Linked DNA regions of Homo sapiens: all the other regions are linked to region 5. Evidence: promoter capture Hi-C in 16 types of primary human blood cells and fetal thymus (Javierre and others, 2016). All regions are on one chromosome and are shown on one strand. The core of a region is centred on a gene start or on the middle of the fragment in contact, and the rest is flanking DNA. Distances in the headings are between cores, read along the strand shown. Region 1 holds the start of FBXO47 (F-box protein 47). Region 2 has its middle 27 kb from the start of FBXO47. Region 3 overlaps FBXO47 (F-box protein 47). Region 4 has its middle 33 kb from the start of LINC02079. Region 5 holds the start of CACNB1 (calcium voltage-gated channel auxiliary subunit beta 1). Region 6 holds the start of FBXL20 (F-box and leucine rich repeat protein 20).

The links. The method cuts DNA at HindIII sites, captures the fragments that hold promoters and counts their contacts. A CHiCAGO score of 5 or more calls a contact.
Region 1: the fragment with the promoter of FBXO47 here is called in contact with the fragment with the promoter of CACNB1 in region 5 in 6 of 17 cell types (total CD8 T cells, naive CD8 T cells, activated CD4 T cells and 3 more); the score reaches 6.8 in total CD8 T cells.
Region 2: a fragment that was not itself captured here is called in contact with the fragment with the promoter of CACNB1 in region 5 in 14 of 17 cell types (total CD8 T cells, naive CD4 T cells, monocytes and 11 more); the score reaches 9.4 in total CD8 T cells.
Region 3: a fragment that was not itself captured here is called in contact with the fragment with the promoter of CACNB1 in region 5 in 1 of 17 cell types (monocytes); the score reaches 5.7 in monocytes.
Region 4: a fragment that was not itself captured here is called in contact with the fragment with the promoter of CACNB1 in region 5 in 1 of 17 cell types (non-activated CD4 T cells); the score reaches 5.3 in non-activated CD4 T cells.
Region 6: the fragment with the promoter of FBXL20 here is called in contact with the fragment with the promoter of CACNB1 in region 5 in 4 of 17 cell types (megakaryocytes, naive CD4 T cells, monocytes and 1 more); the score reaches 7.9 in megakaryocytes.

Annotation. Positions count from the first base shown.
Region 1 is chr17:38,965,941-38,968,879 of GRCh38, reverse strand. FBXO47 (F-box protein 47) reads left to right here and starts at 1,477. Exons shown (of 11, transcript NM_001008777.3): 1 at 1,477-1,651. The HindIII fragment of the contact is 5,025 bases long and covers 1-2,087 here.
Region 2 is chr17:38,992,871-38,995,570 of GRCh38, reverse strand. No RefSeq gene overlaps it. Among named protein-coding and RNA genes, the nearest start is that of FBXO47, 27 kb to the right of the region's middle. The HindIII fragment of the contact is 522 bases long and covers 1,056-1,577 here.
Region 3 is chr17:38,943,081-38,945,920 of GRCh38, reverse strand. It overlaps FBXO47 (F-box protein 47), which reads left to right. Exons shown (of 11, transcript NM_001008777.3): 7 at 785-961; 8 at 2,185-2,331. Among named protein-coding and RNA genes, the nearest start is that of LASP1NB, 19 kb to the right of the region's middle. The HindIII fragment of the contact is 2,037 bases long and covers 531-2,567 here.
Region 4 is chr17:39,058,368-39,061,223 of GRCh38, reverse strand. It overlaps the pseudogene RDM1P5. Among named protein-coding and RNA genes, the nearest start is that of LINC02079, 33 kb to the right of the region's middle. The HindIII fragment of the contact is 3,067 bases long and covers 1-2,856 here.
Region 5 is chr17:39,196,415-39,199,114 of GRCh38, reverse strand. It overlaps CACNB1 (calcium voltage-gated channel auxiliary subunit beta 1), which reads left to right and starts at 1,446. Exons shown (of 14, transcript NM_000723.5): 1 at 1,446-1,703. The coding sequence starts at 1,620. RefSeq lists silencers at 1,149-1,278, 1,289-1,688, 2,119-2,248. The HindIII fragment of the contact is 8,246 bases long and covers 1-2,700 here.
Region 6 is chr17:39,399,972-39,402,919 of GRCh38, reverse strand. FBXL20 (F-box and leucine rich repeat protein 20) reads left to right here and starts at 1,294. Exons shown (of 15, transcript NM_032875.3): 1 at 1,294-1,559. The coding sequence starts at 1,518. RefSeq lists silencers at 145-309, 275-664, 915-994, 1,025-1,224, 1,255-1,684 and 1 more. The HindIII fragment of the contact is 7,755 bases long and covers 1-2,948 here.

The sequences.
Region 1 (2,939 bases), core at 228-2,727, 230 kb after region 5:
TGCAGTGAGCCGAGATCGTGCCACTGAACTCCAGCCTGGGCGACTGAGCAAGACTCTGTCTCAAAAAAAAAAAAAAAAAAAAAAAAGGCCAGGAGTGGTGGCTCACACCTGTAATCCCAGCACTTTGCAGTGCTGAGGTACGCAGGTCACCTGAGGTCAGGAAAAAAAAAGATACAAAGCCAAATGGATGAATATATGTGACTATATAAAATAACAGCATGCCAACTAATCCTAAATTTCCACTCAGTCTTTATGTAGTTCCTTATATATTTTGTGTTGGGTATAATGTAGAATTGATCTACAAAAGTAGAATCTTTCCCCCATTCCCTCTTCCCTCAGCCCTTCTCCTGACTGGCTCCTTCTCCTCCATCAGTTCTCAAATCGTCATATCAAAGGGACCTTGAGTATCAGTCTATCTAAAGTAGCTCTCCGCCAACACACACACACCCCATCATTCTGTCTTATTTCCTCTGTCACGCTGCTCTCACCGGAACTGCTCTCAACATCTGTAGATGCTCTGTCTGTTCATTCTATCTTCCCCATTAGGCTAATAAACTCCATTAAAGCAGGAAACGTATCTGTCTTGTTCTCTATTCCATCCTTAGGGCCTACTCCTGTGCCCGGCCCAGAGCAGGCTTCAATAAATAGTTACAGAATGAATGAAGAAATGAATGAATGAGAATTTAATCTTCTAGCCAGGAAGGCCTAGCTAGAAAGATTTGTCTTGATTTCATCTTGAGAGGATGGAGACACACATCTTCCTTTGATTCCAGACAGATTTATTATTTATGTGTTTATTTAGAGACCGGGAGCGGGGTTATGGCTGGGGGTGGGGGTCTCCCTATGTTGCCCAGGCTGGTCTCAAACTCCTGGACTCAAGGGAGCCTCCCGCCTCGGCCTCCCAAAGTGTTGGGATTACAGGCGTGAGCCACCGCACCGGCAAGACAAATTTAAAAAGGAATGTCTGGAGGTTTTTTTCCACCAAAAGGTTTGATGAAACCCCTTGTAACTTGCCCTACTGGAGTCAGTGGGGGTGGGAGGAACTCAAAAATTGTCTCAAAACTAGGTGAAGGGAAAGGCAGTGGAGCAGAGACGTGGCTCGCCACGTTCAGGATCTTGGGCTACACCCTCCCCTTCCCCACACCGTAACGGCTCCAGCCCCTTCTTGTCTTCAGCTTGGAGCGAAGGGTGGCTGAGGCCTGAGTTTGGGCTCCAGGAACCTCGCCCTTGTTAGTTATTCATGAGACGGAGGGCACCATGGGAGCTGGCTCTCTTGCTATTCATAAAGCGGGGAGGCGGGAGGCGGGGGGGAACCTCCTTCCCGCTAGGGCTTCTGGGAAGATCTACAATATTCATGAGGGAGGCGGGCACTACGAGAGCTGAGGCTGCTTGCTATTCATGAGGGGGCGGGCCTCCTTCCCGCGGGGGCTCTTGGGAAGATTCTACAATATTCTAGAGGCCGCGGGGACGCCTGGTGGGTAGGGCTGCAGCTCCGGAGCCTACGGGAGTGTGACCCTCTCGCCTCCTGGCGGGAAGCTCTTGAGGAGATATTTTCTTTTCTAAACACTAAGAAATTTGAGGATGGTGGGGCAAAACGACTAACTCCCACTTTCCTGTGACTCTGTAGCCGGAAAAACTGTCAAAATCTGTGGTAAAAGAGGGTTTTTTTTCCCAGTATTTTATTGCGATAATTTCATCTTTCATGGACTGAAGGGAGCGAAACATGTACCCCGTGTGGTCTGATTCTCCTGTTGACCAGTTTGTCCTTTAGGCTTCCCTAGTTTGCGGCTTTGGAGATGTTTGGGGGCAGCTGCCCGACAGATGGGGTGGGGCCCTTACAAGAGTTTTATGTTAAAACAGACATCCCTGTGAATGTAGTTTTTATCTTAAAGGTGTGGGGGGCGGGGAGGTTCATCCAATTGAACCCTCAAAACCTTTCACGCGCGGTCAAAATTAGTGGGATAGAACAGGGGGCATGAAACATCATTTTATTATTATTATTTGGGGCTGTGATTCTTATTCGCTAGAGGGGTGAGCGGAAACCAGAAATAATTTAGGATTATACCTTTAGAATTTTCACAAAAGCTTGCTTTTTCCCTACGAAACGTCCAGCTCTGAGTGAGGAAAATAAGGAACTATAAGTGGAGACTTGAGTTTTAGAAGAATTTGGGCTTATCATTTTTAAATTTTTGTTTATATTTATTTTAAACATGTATGTAGTTCACAGTTGACACAGTGAAGTCCCCGCCTGGTGACTGACAGTCTTTGAAGAGCCCACGGGCCCAAGCCCCACTGTCCACATTTCTCAGAGAAACAGGAAGAAGCCAAGGCCGGATTTATGCTATTGTAATAAAAATGCTTTAAAACACCTACTGTGTTGGCCGGGTGCGGTGGCTCACGCCTGTAAATCCCAGCACTTTGGGAGGCCGGGGCAGGCGGATCACGAGGTCAGGAAATCGAGACCAGGCTGGCTAACACGGTGAAACCCCGTCTCTACTAAAAATACAGAAATTAGCTGGGCGTGGGGGCGGGCACCTGTAATCCCAGCTACTAGGGAGGCTGAGGCAGGAGAATCGCTTGAACCCGGGAGGCGGAGCTTGCAGTGAGCCGAGATCGCGCCACTGCACTCCAGCCCAGGAGACTGTGCGAAACTCCATCGCAAACAAACAAACAAAACGCCTACTGTGAAAAGTTAAGGTTACAAACAGCCTTATGGATTAAACAAATTAAGATTATTTTACTTGGTGGAATGACACATAGCCATTAAAATATGATTACTTGTAGAAGGTTATTAGCATGGAAAGAGAATTCATTGAAAAAAGCAGATTACAAAGTATTATATATAGTGATCCCTCTTTTTTGTTAAAAAGAAATATATGTATGTAAAAGTCTGAAATTATATAAACCAAAGTGTTTATAAGTGAACTTAATTTTTTTCT
Region 2 (2,700 bases), core at 67-2,566, 200 kb after region 5:
CATCTCCATATAGATATATAATGTATATATGTATGTGTGTATATATAAAAGATAGATGATTGATTGACAGATAAACAGGCAGATGCCAGGCATGGTGGCTGACATCAGTTGCCTCAGCCTTTTGAAAGGCTGAGATGGGAGTGATTGCTTCAGGCCAGGAGTTTGAAGCCAGCCTGGATAATAGTGAAACCCTGTCTCTACAAAATATTTTAAAATTAGCTAGGCACAGTGTCATGCACCTGTAGTCCCAGCTACTCCGGAGGCTGAGGTGGGAGGATCACTCCTTGAACCCAGGAGTTTGAGGCTGCCGTGAGTTATGATTTCACCACTGTACTCCAGCCTGGGCAACAGAGTGAGTCTTTGTCTCTAAAATTAAAAAAAAAAAAGTAAAGGTAAATAGACAAAGCAAAAATGATAAAATGTTAACAATTGTTGTAACTAGGTATTTGTGTGCTGATTGTACTGTTCTTTCACCTTTCATATACACTGACAATTTTTTGTAATGAAAAGTTATAGCTGGGTGCATTGGCTCATGCCTATAATACTAGCATTTTGGGAGGCTGAGGTGGGAGGATTGCTTGAGGCCAGGAGTTCAAGACCAGCCTGGTCAACACAGTGAGACACTGAATCTAAAAAAAAAGTTTAAAAAGTAAAGTAGCCGGGTGTAGTGGCTCACGCCTGTAATCTTAGCACTTTGGGAGGCCGAGGCAGGTGGATCACCTGAAGTCAGGAGTTCGAGACCAGCCTGGACAACATGTTGAAACCCCGTCTCTACTAAAAAATACAAAAATTAGCCAGGCGTGGTGGCACACGCCTGTAATCCCAGCTGCCCGGGAGGCTGAGGCAGGAGAATCGCTTGAATCTGGCAGGCAGCGGTTGCAGTGAGCCAAGATCGCACCATTGCACTCCAGCCTGGACGACAAGAGTGAGACTCCGTCTCGAAAAAAAAAAAAAGAGAGAGAGATACTTTATAATAGGATCAAATATATGAAGTACAGAGTAATAAATCAAACAAAAGATGTGCCAGAGCTCTCTAAGGAAAAAATAATAAAGCTTTATTAAAAGATTTAAAGAATACTAAAATAAATAGAGCACTGTGTTCATGCAATGCAAGATACACATTTATAAAAATGTCAGTTCTCCTTAAATTGATCTACAGATTCAATGCAATCTCAGTCAAAATCCCAACAGATTTTGTGAAGAATTTGACAAACTTATTCTAAAATGTAAATGAAAGTACAAAAGACCAGGAATAGCCAAGACAAAATAAAAGGACTTCCTTTCCAGATCTAGCCTCTTTAACAGTCAACAATGATTACGGAAGTGTGATATTGGAGCAAGGTCAGAAAAGTAGAGCACTGAAAACAATAGAAAGCCCAGAAATACACACCTGCCTCCATGCCACTTGACATATAACAGAGGGGGGCTTGTGGTTAGATAAGTGCAATAAATAGCACTAGGACATTGAGGATCTATACAGAAAAAAACAAAACGAACTCTACTTTTCACCACATACAAAATTCAGTTCCAGGTGAATCAGGAATCCAAATATGAAAAGTGAAAAATAACATAAAGCTTTTAGAAGATAATAAAAGAGAATATTTTCATGACCTCAGAATAGTGGAGGATTTCTTTTTCTTTCTTTCTTTTCTTTCTTTTTTTTTTTTTAGACATCGTCTTGCTTTGTCGCCCAGGCTAGAGTGTGGAGCGTAGTGATGCAATCTCGGCTCACTGCATCCTCCACCTCCCAGGTTCAAGCGATTCTCCTACCTCAGCCTCCTGAGTAGTTGGGATTACAGCTATGTGCCACCATGCCCGGCTAATTTTTGTATTTTTAGTAGAGACGGGGTTTCACCTTGGCCAGGCTGGTCTTGAACTCCTGACCTCCAGTGATCTGCCCACCTCAGTCTGCCAACGTGCAGGGATTACAGGTGTGAGCCACCACGCCCCACCAGAATAGTGGAGGATTTCTTAAACAGGAGGCAGAAAGGCAATGTTGCTCTCCAGGGCACTTTCGGCAATGTCTGGAGACATTTTTGGTTATCATAATTTGGGCAGAAGGGTGCTATTGGTATCTAATGGACAGAGGCCAGGGATGCTGGTAAACCTCCTACAATATACAGGACAGCCCCCAACACACACACACGCGCACACACACACACACACACACACAGAGTCACACACACAAAAAAAACAAGGAATTTTCCAGCCCAAAATGTCAATAGTGCCAAGATTGAGACATTCTACTACGTTCATACTAAAGAACATCTGTTCATGAAAAGATACCATTAAGAGACTAAAAATTATCTAGGATACAGAAAGAAGCACAATCAATAAAAAGACAACACAATGGGAAAATGGGAAGACATGGGTATATCCTTCAGAAAAAAGGAAATCCAAAGACTAACAAACCAAACATACAAAAAAGATGCCCAACCTAAGTAGTAATCAGAGAAATATAAATTAAAAATCATTGGCCAGGTACAGTGGCTCATGCCTGTAATCCCAACATTTTGGGAGGCTGAGGTGGGAGGATTGCTTGAGGCCAGGAGTTGGAGACCAGCTTGGGTAATGTAGGGAGACCACTGTCTCTACCAAAAAGAATTAGGCAGCCATGGCAGTGTGCATCTGTAGTCCCAGCTCCTCAGGAGGCTGAGGCAGAAGGATCACTTGAGCCCAGGAGTTCAAGGTTACAGTGAG
Region 3 (2,840 bases), core at 300-2,799, 250 kb after region 5:
TCTGTCACCCAGGCTGGAGTGCAGTGGCACGATCTTGGCTCACTACAAGCTCCACCTCCCGGGTTAACGCCATTCTCCTGCCTCAGTCTCCCAAGTAGCTGGGACTACAGGCGCCCGCCATCACTCCCGGCTTATTTTTTGTATATTTAGTAGAGACAGGGTTTCACCGTGTTAGCCAGGTTGGTCTCGATCTCCTGACCTCGTGATCTGCCCGCCTCAGCCTCCCAAAGTGCTGGGATTACAGGTGTGAGCCACGGCACCCGGCCAATTTTTTTTGTATTTTTAGTAGAGACAGGGTTTCGCCATATTGGCCAGGCTGGTCTTGAACTCCTGACCTCAAGTGATCCTCCCACCTCGGCTTCACAACGTGCTGGCATTACAGGCAAGAGTCACCACACCTGCCATAAAACTTTCATAGAGGAAAATGAAGTGACACTTTCAGTACAAAGTATATTAATGATATATGTCTTTGACCTTTCTCTGCATTTATTTCTTTTTAAATCCAAAATTGTACAAGAGTCTGGTAAGCTTAAGCATGTCTTTTGATTGATTGACCCATTATTCAAAATATTGACTATAAATCAGGAAGGTAAAAGTAAGTAAGTAGATAGACAAATTATGAAGTTAGGGGAGTTTAAGAATAGATAATCTCTTGGTTACTTCCTGTTTAGAAACCTAGTTTACTATCACTAACCATAATGATTAATAAGTTGCTTTGATCACTATTCAATATGCACAGCAGCCTTTCTACGAAGAATGATTTACAATTCTTTTGTCTTCATAGGAAGTGCCCAAAAACTGGAGTTAAGAATCAGACTCTTCTGTAGGAATGTCCTCCTTGATCATTGGACACATCGAAGTGATTCTGCTTTTTGGTTGACGCGAATATTAAAACCATGGCCAATGGTGAATCAGGCAAGATTACTGTATATCATCTTTGGGCCAATATCTCCTCAAGATGGTGAGCACCCATCTTTCAGGGTTGTAACATAACTGGTTCATTATTTTTACTTTAGGAAGCATATATATATTTAGGAAGCATATATTATACACACACACACACACACACACATGCATGCACGCACACAGTGGTGCGATCATGGCTCACTGCAACCTCCACCTCCCGGGTTCAAGCGATTCTCCTGCCTCAGCCTCCCAAGTAGCTGGGACTGCAGGTGCGTGCAACCACAACCAGCTAATTTTTTTTTTTTTTTTTTTTTGAGACGGAGTCTGCTCTGTCACCCAGGCTGGAGTGCAGTGGCGCAATCTCGGCTCACTGCGAGCTCCAATTCCCGGGTTCACACCATTCTCCTGCCTCAGCCACCCGAGTAGCTGGGATTACAGGCGCCTGCCACCATGCCTGGCTAATTTTTTGTATTTTTAGTAGAGATGGGGTTTCACCGTGTTAGCCAGAATGGTCTCGATCTCCTGACCTTGTGATCTTCCCACCTCGGCCTTCCAAAGTGCTGGGATTACAGATGTGAGCCACCGCGCCTGGCCAGTTTTTTGTATTTTTAGTAAAGACGGGGTTTCACCGTGTTATCCAGGATGGTCTCGATCTCCTGCAGGGTCCCACTTTGGTACCCAGGTTGCTCTCAACCTCTTGGGCTCAAGTGATCCTCCCACCTTGGCCTCCCCAAGTGCTAGAATTACATACATGAGCTACTGTGCCTGGCCAAGAAGCATACACACACACACACACACACACACACACACACACACACACACATGTTTTTTTTGAGACAGAGTCTCGCTGTGTTGCCCAGGCTGGAGTTCAGTGGCCCAATCTCCACTCACTGCAACCTCCGCCTCCCAGGTTCAAGCGATTCTCGTGCCTCAGCCTCCTGAGTAGCTGGGACTACAGGCGTGCACCACCATGCCTGGCTAATTTTTATATTTTTAGTAGAGACAGGGTTTCACAGGCTGGTCTCGAACTCCGTACCTCAAGTGATCCTCCTACCTCGGCCTCCTAAAGTGCTGGGATTACAGGCATGAGCCACCACGCCCGGCCAGAGACGTTCAAATCTATACTATTACCAGAATTGACTTCTTGTTTCAAAAGTTAAAATGAAAGTAGCTTGTATAAGTAATGGGATTCCATTGTGCAATTCACTTTCCTTTTTAAACAAGTCTTTATCACAAAGCCAACTATTCTGTCATAGCCTCGTTTTTGTTTCAATTCAGGACAGGTGGTTTGGCAGGAAATGATAGAAGAACCTACAGATGAATTCAGTCTGAAAGGTTTGGCTGATGCCATTAAGTTACTATATGACGCTAGCACTAAAGAGTGGACAGCAGATGATGTTATCAGTCTTGTAGATGAACTATCAGGTAAAAAATATATTTACTAACATAGAATAATAGAAATTTATTGTTAAAATGCAGTTATAAAATTATAAGGATAATTCTACAGGTAACAAATGATGTGCCTGTTGGAAATCACTGAATGCTCTAAAATATTTAAAGAGTTTGGCATTATGTTTGAAGAGAATGCATATAATCAACTTACTTTCCTTTGCTTGCCAATTTTATAAATAAACATTTATTATTATTATTATTTGAAAGCTTCTTCATTTAATTAGCTCAATTACTCCCATGTTGTAAATTCTCAGAAACACCCTCCTAGGTTCTGTAAAAAGCCCTCTTCTGTGAGTAAAGGAAAGGTGAAACAATTATTCCTATTCCTGCATAATCCTTTAGATTCTAAAGTTTACAAGGATGCTTTCCTTGCACAGGATTAGAACACTTTGCCTGCTGACCTATGTGTAGGAGAATTGCTTTGTTTATATTATTAGTACATTTGTAAGAGCCTCCATGACATGGCAATAACCTGTCTCTGA
Region 4 (2,856 bases), core at 201-2,700, 140 kb after region 5:
AAAGTGTGGTCCAGGCCAGGTACAGTGGCTCATACCTGTAATCCTGCTCTCTGGGAGGCCAAGATGGGAGGATGGCTTGAGGCCAGGAGTTCAAAACCAGCATGAGCAACACAGCGAGACCTTGTCTCTACAAAAATAAATAAATAAATAAATAAAATAATAAAGTGTGGTCCAGCCAGGCAGCATTAGCATTCCCTGGGGTTAGCTGGAAATGCAGCACTCAGGCCCCCCAACCCCAGAACTACTGAGTCCGAATCTGCATTTGAGCAGCTCCTTAGGTGACTCCTGTGAAGGGCATGAAAGTTTGAGATGCACCATTTAGGAAGCAATTCTACCTACATGATCGCAGCCTGTTGGAGAAGCACTGTTTTTCCTTTCCCAGATGAGGAAACTGAGGCTCAGGGAGGTGGCTTACTTATTTATTCACTTGATCCACATTCATTAAACGCCTGTGTGCCAGGCACCATTAAGTGACTTGCACAAGGTCACACAGCTAGTAAGTAGAGAAAAACCCCAAGTGCAGATTTTTGGATTCCCATCTGAGGTTGTTCTCTGTGTACCTCAGGGTGTTGCCAGAACCACATGGCCACAGTTTAATATAGAAGCAGATTATGGATTATGACAGACAGACTGCTCCAGGCCTGTAGAGATCCTCGAAGAGATGCCTAGTGATGACTTCAGATCCTCGCTCTTGGCTCACGAAACTGTGAGCTTACCATCTATTTATTTGCACAGTCCCAGGAGCTTGAGAATGTCCTAGTTGTTGCTGCCTCCTTCTCATCCCGCTGCTCACACTAGCGACCCTCCCACATGAAGAATTAGAAGTACTCCTCACAAGCCTTACAGAGCACCAGGCGATGCCTCCATCTAATTTATCTTCTTGGATGGAGGACAATGGATTACTTCCTTCGCCAAGATGGGGCCAGAGGTGCAGGGAGGAAGGAAGAGGGGTAGAATCTTTACTTCAACTGTGAAATCCAGAGAGAAATTTTGTGGGGAATGATTTTTCTGATGTTCATAAAACATTTTTACATTTGGTCCCTAGAGATAGCTAAATTATGCCTACAGTTTTCCACAAAGCTAAAAGCACTGAAAAAAAAATCACCTGAATATGGGCCAATAAAATTTCATCATACCTTCCCAGAGTCTTGGGTTAGAACCTTCCCTTCCAGCTTGTCTTTCCCCTTTTTCAGTCTCTCCCCCTCAAAGTTTGTGTGGTTTTGTTTCTTTGTGTTTTGAGACAGGGTCTTGCTCTGTTGCCCAGACTGGAGTGCCGTAGCATGATCTCGGCTCACTGCAGCCTTTGCCTCCTGGGTTCAAGCGATTCTCCTGCCTCAGCCTCCTGAGTAGCTGGGACCACAGGTGTGTGCCACCATGCACGGCTAATTTGTGTGTATTTGTGTGTGTGTGTGTGTGTGTGTTTGAGATGGAGTTTCGCTCTTGTTGCTCAGGCTGGAGTGCAGTGGCGTGACCTCGGCTCACTGCAACCTCCACCTCCCGGGTTCAAGCGATTCTCCTGCCTCACCATCCCGAGTAGCGGGGATTATAGACATGCACCACCACGCCCAGCTAATTTTGTATTTTTAGTAGAGATGGGGTTTCTCCACGTTGGTCAGGCTGGTCTCGAACTCCCGACCTCAGGTGATCCGCCCTACTTGGCCTTCCAAAGTGCTGGGATTACAGGCATGAGCCACTGCACCCAGTCAATTTTTGTATTTGTAGTAGAGACAGGGTTTCTCCAGGTTGGCCAGGCTGGTCTTGAACTCCTGGCCTCAAGTGATACGACCACCTCAGCCTCCCAAAGTGCTGGGATTACAGGCATGAGCCATTGTGCCCGGCCTTAGATCCCATTTTTAATTAAGAGATGAAGATGCTGCTCTCAGCAAACCTGTGCACTGACTCTGCTCTCCTAAGGAACATTAAGCAATTCCAAGAGCCCCTCCTCAAGGCCAAAAGGGCAGCCTCCTGTAGGGCCTACCTTCCCGTTCTCAGAGCCTCCCTTTTCTCTCTCTTTTTTTTTCTTTCTTTTTTTTTTAGAGACAGGGTCTCAGTCTGTTGTCCAGGATTCAGTTCAGCGATGCAATCATGGCTCACTGCAGCCTTGAATTCCTGGGCTAAAGTGATCCTCCCACCTCCGCCTTCCAAGTAGCTGGGACTACAGGTGGGAACCATCATGCCTGGCTAATTATTTTATTTTTTGTAGAGATGGGGTCTTGTTTTTCTGCCTAGGCTGATCTTGAACTCCTGGGCTCAAGCAATCCTCCCATCTCAGCCTCCCAAAGTGTTGGGATTATAGGTGTGAGCCACCACGCCCGGATGGAGCATCCCCTCTCTACAGCTGCTGACACCCCTCTCTGTTCCCTGGGGCTCTTCTCCCCCAGGCCCATTACAGACTGAGCAGAATCCTCCCAGCTGTGCTCACTCTTCCCTCTGCCTCTGTAGACAAGCACTTAGCCCTCTTTAGCCGTGAAGAAGGAGCCACAACTAACAAAATTAGGCAGAGGTAAACATTACTTAAAACCAAAGGTCCTGGTCTACTGACTTTTGGACTCTGGGATGGTACTGCTGGTGGTGCTGCCGGCAGCTCACATTTACTGGGTGTTTCCTATGTTCCAAGCACATTTTAGGAGATTTACTTGTATCGTCATCTATGGGGTGGGTGCTGTTGCTACCTCTACCCTACACAGGAGGCCACTGAGGCACAGCGCAATAGGGAACTGTATGTTTTTGTATTTTTAGTACAGATAGAGTTTTGCCATATTGCCAAGGCTGCTCTCGAACTCCTGGTCTCAAGTGACCCGTCCGACTCAGTCTCCCAAACTGCTGGGATTACAGGCATGAGCCACCGTGCCCAGC
Region 5 (2,700 bases), core at 197-2,696:
CCTCATTTTACAGCTAAGGTAACAGATTCAGAACACAGATATTTCTGATTGCAAAGCCCATACTTTTGCGGTTATGCCAGCCTTTCTTGTCTCCAAGGGGCAGGTGGAAACCCTGCTCAGGGTTGGAACTCTCCTGGAACGTTTCTAATGGGCTTCATCTTCACTCACTGCTCCGCCTTCCCCAAGGTGTTGTGATCAGAGGAATGACAGACTGACCATTCACTTGCTATTAGAGTTGGGTGAGGAGGAGGAGTCCCATAGTCTCCTGTCCTGCGGAACACAGCAAGGTGGTGGCCTTATTGTAAGGTCACTTGACCTGGAGAGGGTCTTCTCCATCTCTCCTTTCTGTGGAGCAGGAGAAGGGGTGGAGTAGGAAGGGAATGGGTCCTCCTGTCATGAGTGACCCCTTCATTGAAACTTACAGCTTCTCCAAACACCCCAGCAATTCATTTAATTCTCCCTCATCCTCCCAATAATACCAGGTGACACAGACTCCACAGTACCAGCAACCCCATTTTATAGGAGAGGAGGAAACTGATGCTCAGAGAGGTGATTTGTCCGGGGCTATACAACCAGAAACAGCCTGAGCCAAATTGGCGCCAGAGTCTATTGCCCAGAATCTCCTATTCCTCTTCTCTCCACCAGTCATGGTGGGTGGCATCCAGATCTTGGATGTTTCTCCCTAAATCAGGGGTAAAGGTGGCGCAATTCTAGGTCAAAGGTCATGAGATCTGATTTTACCAGCTTCTCCTCTCTCAGCTCCATATTTCTTCCTCTTTTCTCATCCAAGAGCAGGGACCTCACCCAGCCCCATTCCTGGCCTTTTGGAAGAACAGGGGTTGGGGGGGCGGTGTATCCTAGTGACTGATTAGGGCAGAACTCCTGGACCCCTGGGATTTATTTTGCTGTCTCTATTGGACACCCTCCCCATCTCAGCCTCAGCCTCCCACCGGCAGCCCCAGAGCCATGTTGGAGGGAGAGGCTTTTCTGTTTGGTTTGAGGCAGCCTGGGCCCCACACTGGGGAGAAAGGAGTTAAAGCCAGGTCCCAGGATCACCGGGACCGGGAAGTTCCGGTGGTCCAAACAGGAGTGGGTTGGGGGGACCCGCAGGAAGAGAGGTTTGGGACAAAAGGGGGGTGGTGCCAGCCATGCCAATCCCCATCAGCGCTCGGCATCCACTGGTAGACCGCCCCCCCACCCCTCCCCCAAGTTCCACGCCTAGTTTCTGCCTTCCCGCCCCAGCGGGCCGCCTGCACCCCACGGCCAGTCAGAGGCCCACCTGCGGCCACCTAGAGCCGAGAGGGGCTTGCCTCCCTGCTGCCGCACGCCCATTGTGTGCGCCGAGCCGGCGGAGGGGCTGCGAGGGGCGGGGCCGGGCGGGCGGAGGGAGGGAGCGAGGGAGGGGCGCGGGGAGATGCTGAGCCTACGGGGGAGGCGGCGGCGGCAGTGGAGAGAGCGGGAGGAGCGAGGGAAGGCAGGAAGGAGGCAGCCGAAGGCCGAGCTGGGTGGCTGGACCGGGTGCTGGCTGCGCCGCGCTGCTTTCGGCTCCCACGGCCTCTCCCATGCGCTGAGGGAGCCCGGCTGGGCCGGGCCGGCGGCGGGAGGGGAGGCTCCTCTCCATGGTCCAGAAGACCAGCATGTCCCGGGGCCCTTACCCACCCTCCCAGGAGATCCCCATGGAGGTCTTCGACCCCAGCCCGCAGGTGAGGCGTGGTGGCCCGGCCCAACGGGAGGGGGTCGCTCCCGCGGACCGTGTTAAGGTCGGCTCGAGAGGCGCGGGAGAGGAAGGGGTTATATGCCGGGCGCGGAGGAGAGAGGGATGCCTGCGCGCCCCCCATCCTTGCAGGTTGTGATTGATGGGCGCTGGGCCTGGGGCTGGGTGGCGATGCTGCGGAGCGGGGAGGGGGCGGGTGGGCTGCCTGTCACCCTCGCCTCCTTATCTCCCCCGCGTCAAGGTTCCTGCCGCTTGGGCACCAGCTTCAGTGGGCTGAGCGTGGGGGTGCTGGTGGAGGGGGATCTGGGCCTTGAGAAGGGGAGGTTGAAAGAGGCTAGAAAGCGAGCCAGGCAAGGGGGGCGACGCAGAGCACGCTCGGGGGCGCCAGGCGGGTGTGGGTGGGGCGGGGGTGGCACGAGGAGGTGGCCGAGGCGATGGTCAGAGGGCGGTGCCAAATGCCAACAGGCCTTCAAAGCCGCAGACACTGGTTCTCGAGGGTGGGGAAAGAGCCAACCCCGGTCGAGGTCCCCTCCCAGCCACCTGGGCTCCATCTCTATGTCGGACCTGCTCCCCTCCCCCCACACCCACGTTGACTTACCCCACCCCCACCCCCGCCCCAAAAACGCCTCCAAAGTTTGGAAAGTTGGATGGATGCCAACTCATAGGAGGGGGGGAAGCTGTTTTACCTGGGGGAGGGGTCTACTTCTCCATCCCCACCCGCACACTTTTCCTACACCCCTGGTTACTCCCAGGAAGTGGCATTCTTGGGCGCGGTGGGTTCTCATGGGGTGACCAGCAGGCTCTGGGATGGTCGCGCCAGGGGATTTCTTTGGGAGTGTCCTTCTCCAAGGATAGCATTAACTCTTCTGTTACTGTGGCCACCAGCTGTAACCACCATGATAATGTGACTGATGGGTATGTAGAGGGGTCAAGTCAGACCTAAAAATACCTTCCTCCACCCCAGGCCCCTTTGAGCCTGGGAGGCA
Region 6 (2,948 bases), core at 45-2,544, 200 kb before region 5:
GGACATAATTTTGTAGTTTGTTGCTCATAGAAGGGGCAACAAAACTACAAAATCCTGTGTTATTCCTTCGTGGAAATTCGGTCATAAATTCTGAGACCTTGAAGGCCAGAGTTGTTAAAACATAATATAATATGATGACACAGATCAGCTTCTATACAAGGAGCCCGGGAGTCTGATGAAGTGTTTCCATCGGGAAAACGCCCCCGCCTACTCGCTCACACACGCTTGTTTCTCCCGCCAAAGTGACGTCAGGCCGAAGCTCTCACCAAACAGCGCCCTGATTGGCGGACAGGCAGGCGCTGCAGCCCATTGGGCGCCGGCGGCGGCCGAGCAAGGAAAACCAAAGGCTCTTCGGTCTCGCCCGCCCCACCCCCACGGACGCGCGCCCCGACCCCGGCCAAAGGAAGGGTTGCCCGGCTCCAGCCCTGCACCCCCGACCCCCGGCCTCAGGTGCAGCTCCGCAGCCATCCCCGGACCAGGGCGGGCACTTGGCCTGTTGCTCAGCGCAACCACCCTCGCCCTCCCGAGCCATGCACAGGGAGACAAGCGTCCGGCCCCGGCCCCCCAGGCCTCCCTGCAGCACCCCGTAATGTAATGCACTGGGGCGGGGGAGGCGGGGGAGGCGGCGGCGGCGGCAACCGCGGAGGCGCGGCGGCAGCCGCACTGCCCCAATCTAGACACATCCAGAAGAGGAGGAAAATGGCTCCGAGCAGGGACCGCCTGCTGCACTTTGGGTTCAAGGCGACAGTGAGTGACAGGGGAAGGGAGCTGGGTGGCCGGGAAGGATGCGGGTGCCTTACAGGATCCTGGGGAACAAGTGACGAGGGGCGACGGGCGCGGGCAGAGGCTGAGGTTCTGTGCAGGCAGGTGCGTGCCTGTTTGCCCGCGGAGGGAGGAGAGGGGGACACGGGGCAGAAGAGGGGCCCCCGCGCAGAGTGCGGTACTGCTCTACTCTCCCTCGCTGGTCCGCGAGCACGCGCGCACTCGCATCCGCCCCACAGACCCCCTTTTCCACACGCACAGGCACTTCCCTGCCTCGCCTTCTCCCGATGGGCTCGTCTGCCTCGGAGGCGCAGGGGGTCGTGCCGCCGCCGCGCACCGGCTGCTCCCGGGAGCGCCGTCAGGGCCGGCCCCGTGTGGGGGAGGGGTGGTCTCGCGCCGCCGCCGCCGCGCTCCTCCCCTCCCGCCCCTCCCCCTCCCGGGCGCTCCGAGGCCCGGGCGGCTCTGTCCAATGAGCAGCGGCGTTGCTGGCAGGTGGGGAGTGTTTTTGTTTTGGGTTGAAGTTGAGGCTGAGGAGAGAGCCGAGCTAGCGACGAGCAGTCGTTGCGGCCGCCGGCGCCGCGGGAGGTGGTGGAGGCCTAGCCGGAGCCGAGAGGTCTCTTGTTCCCGTCCCACGGTCCCGGCGTCACCCCTCCGGCGCCCAGTCCCCGTCCCGGAACTCCCGGGCCTGTCCTGGGCCCCCGGTCTGTGCACTCCGCTCGCCGCAGCGCCCGGCCCGGGCCGCACCCGCCGGCCCCATGAGGAGGGACGTGAACGGAGTGACCAAGAGCAGGTTTGAGGTGTGAGCTTGGGGGGCTCGGGCGGCGTGAGGAGGGCGGGTCGCGCGCTCTAATCCCAAAACGTCCGCTCCGCACGGAGCCTCCTCCCTGGCAGGCGCCGTCACCCACCCACTGGCGGGGCTGCCAGACTCCGCTCCCCTTTCTTGCGACCCAGAAGCCCAGCGCAGCCCGGTGCCCCCAGTCCCCTCGCCGGTTCGCCCCCCGTCTCTTCCCACCAGCGGGCCCCCGCGGGGGATTAGCTCGGGCGCCCTAATTCCACCCTCCTCCAGGATCGCTCAGCTTTCCATTCTTTACACAACCCTTGGCTTGCCTCCTTCCACCCAGCCATCACGGCTCCGGTCCACCAGAGCCTGCTGCTTTTCTCGCTGCTACCTTCATGACGCGTTTGTTGTCTGTTGAGGGAGGAAATTAGGGGATGGGTACCATTTCTCCGAGTTTGAGACCTTGGTGAAACTAGGGAAGTGGGGACGGTAGTTTGGGATGATAGAGGCTACCACGGGTTTTCGGTGCTGTGTTTGGTTTGGGTATTGTTCTGATACTTCCTCTGCTTTCCCGTTTAGTCTGTACTTCTGTAGCTCATTGTTCCTTGGGAACCCTTGGATGTCTACATGCTTTGAGATTGGGACGAAAGTTCAGCAAATCCATTCCGGTCTGTCTTTCAGGAACTTTTTCTCCTCTAGCGAGGGAGGTTTACTGTCCTGGAATTGAGGAGTGGACGGTCTTGAAAGCGTCTTTAGAGAGTAGTCATCTTGCAAGGAAGAGATTCCTTTGGGAAGTGAAATATTGTAACTACTGATGAATTACAGTAGTATAACAATATACTGGAAGGTTCCTTGAGGGTCAAGAGAAAGAAACTTCTACAGGAAGAGTAAATGTCACCTGGTCTTTTCTGGCAGAGAACCAGGCTGACCTGGGATCACTCACAGCTCAGTGGACAATCTCACTCGGTGTTTTTCTTCATCTCCATTTGAGAGATGAAATTGTAAGACGGCGAGACAAAAGTTTAAGAAACTCGACAACTAGGTTCAGGGTGTGAAAACTTTTAAGGGTTGTCAGTTTAATCTATTCTTTGATTTCTTATTATGCGAACTGGGAAATAATTTGAATTGATCCACGAAGATCAAGATAGGAAGTGTTTTGGGTGCAGTTTAAGTTCAGAGCTTCAGTGTTACTGTTGCACTTCAGGAGTGGAGAAAATCAAAGAATTGGCCTTCTTAGAGTTTTAGTATTTAACTTGATCACTAGAAGAAAATGTTATGGAATATATTATTTGGTGTTTAATAGGACATTGGATGGCCCTAATGTACAGAGCCCCAATAAAGTTAATTTATGATGGTTTCGTATTCAGTAGTACCGTAAAAACCCAGAATGTCACTAAAATTGCTGAAT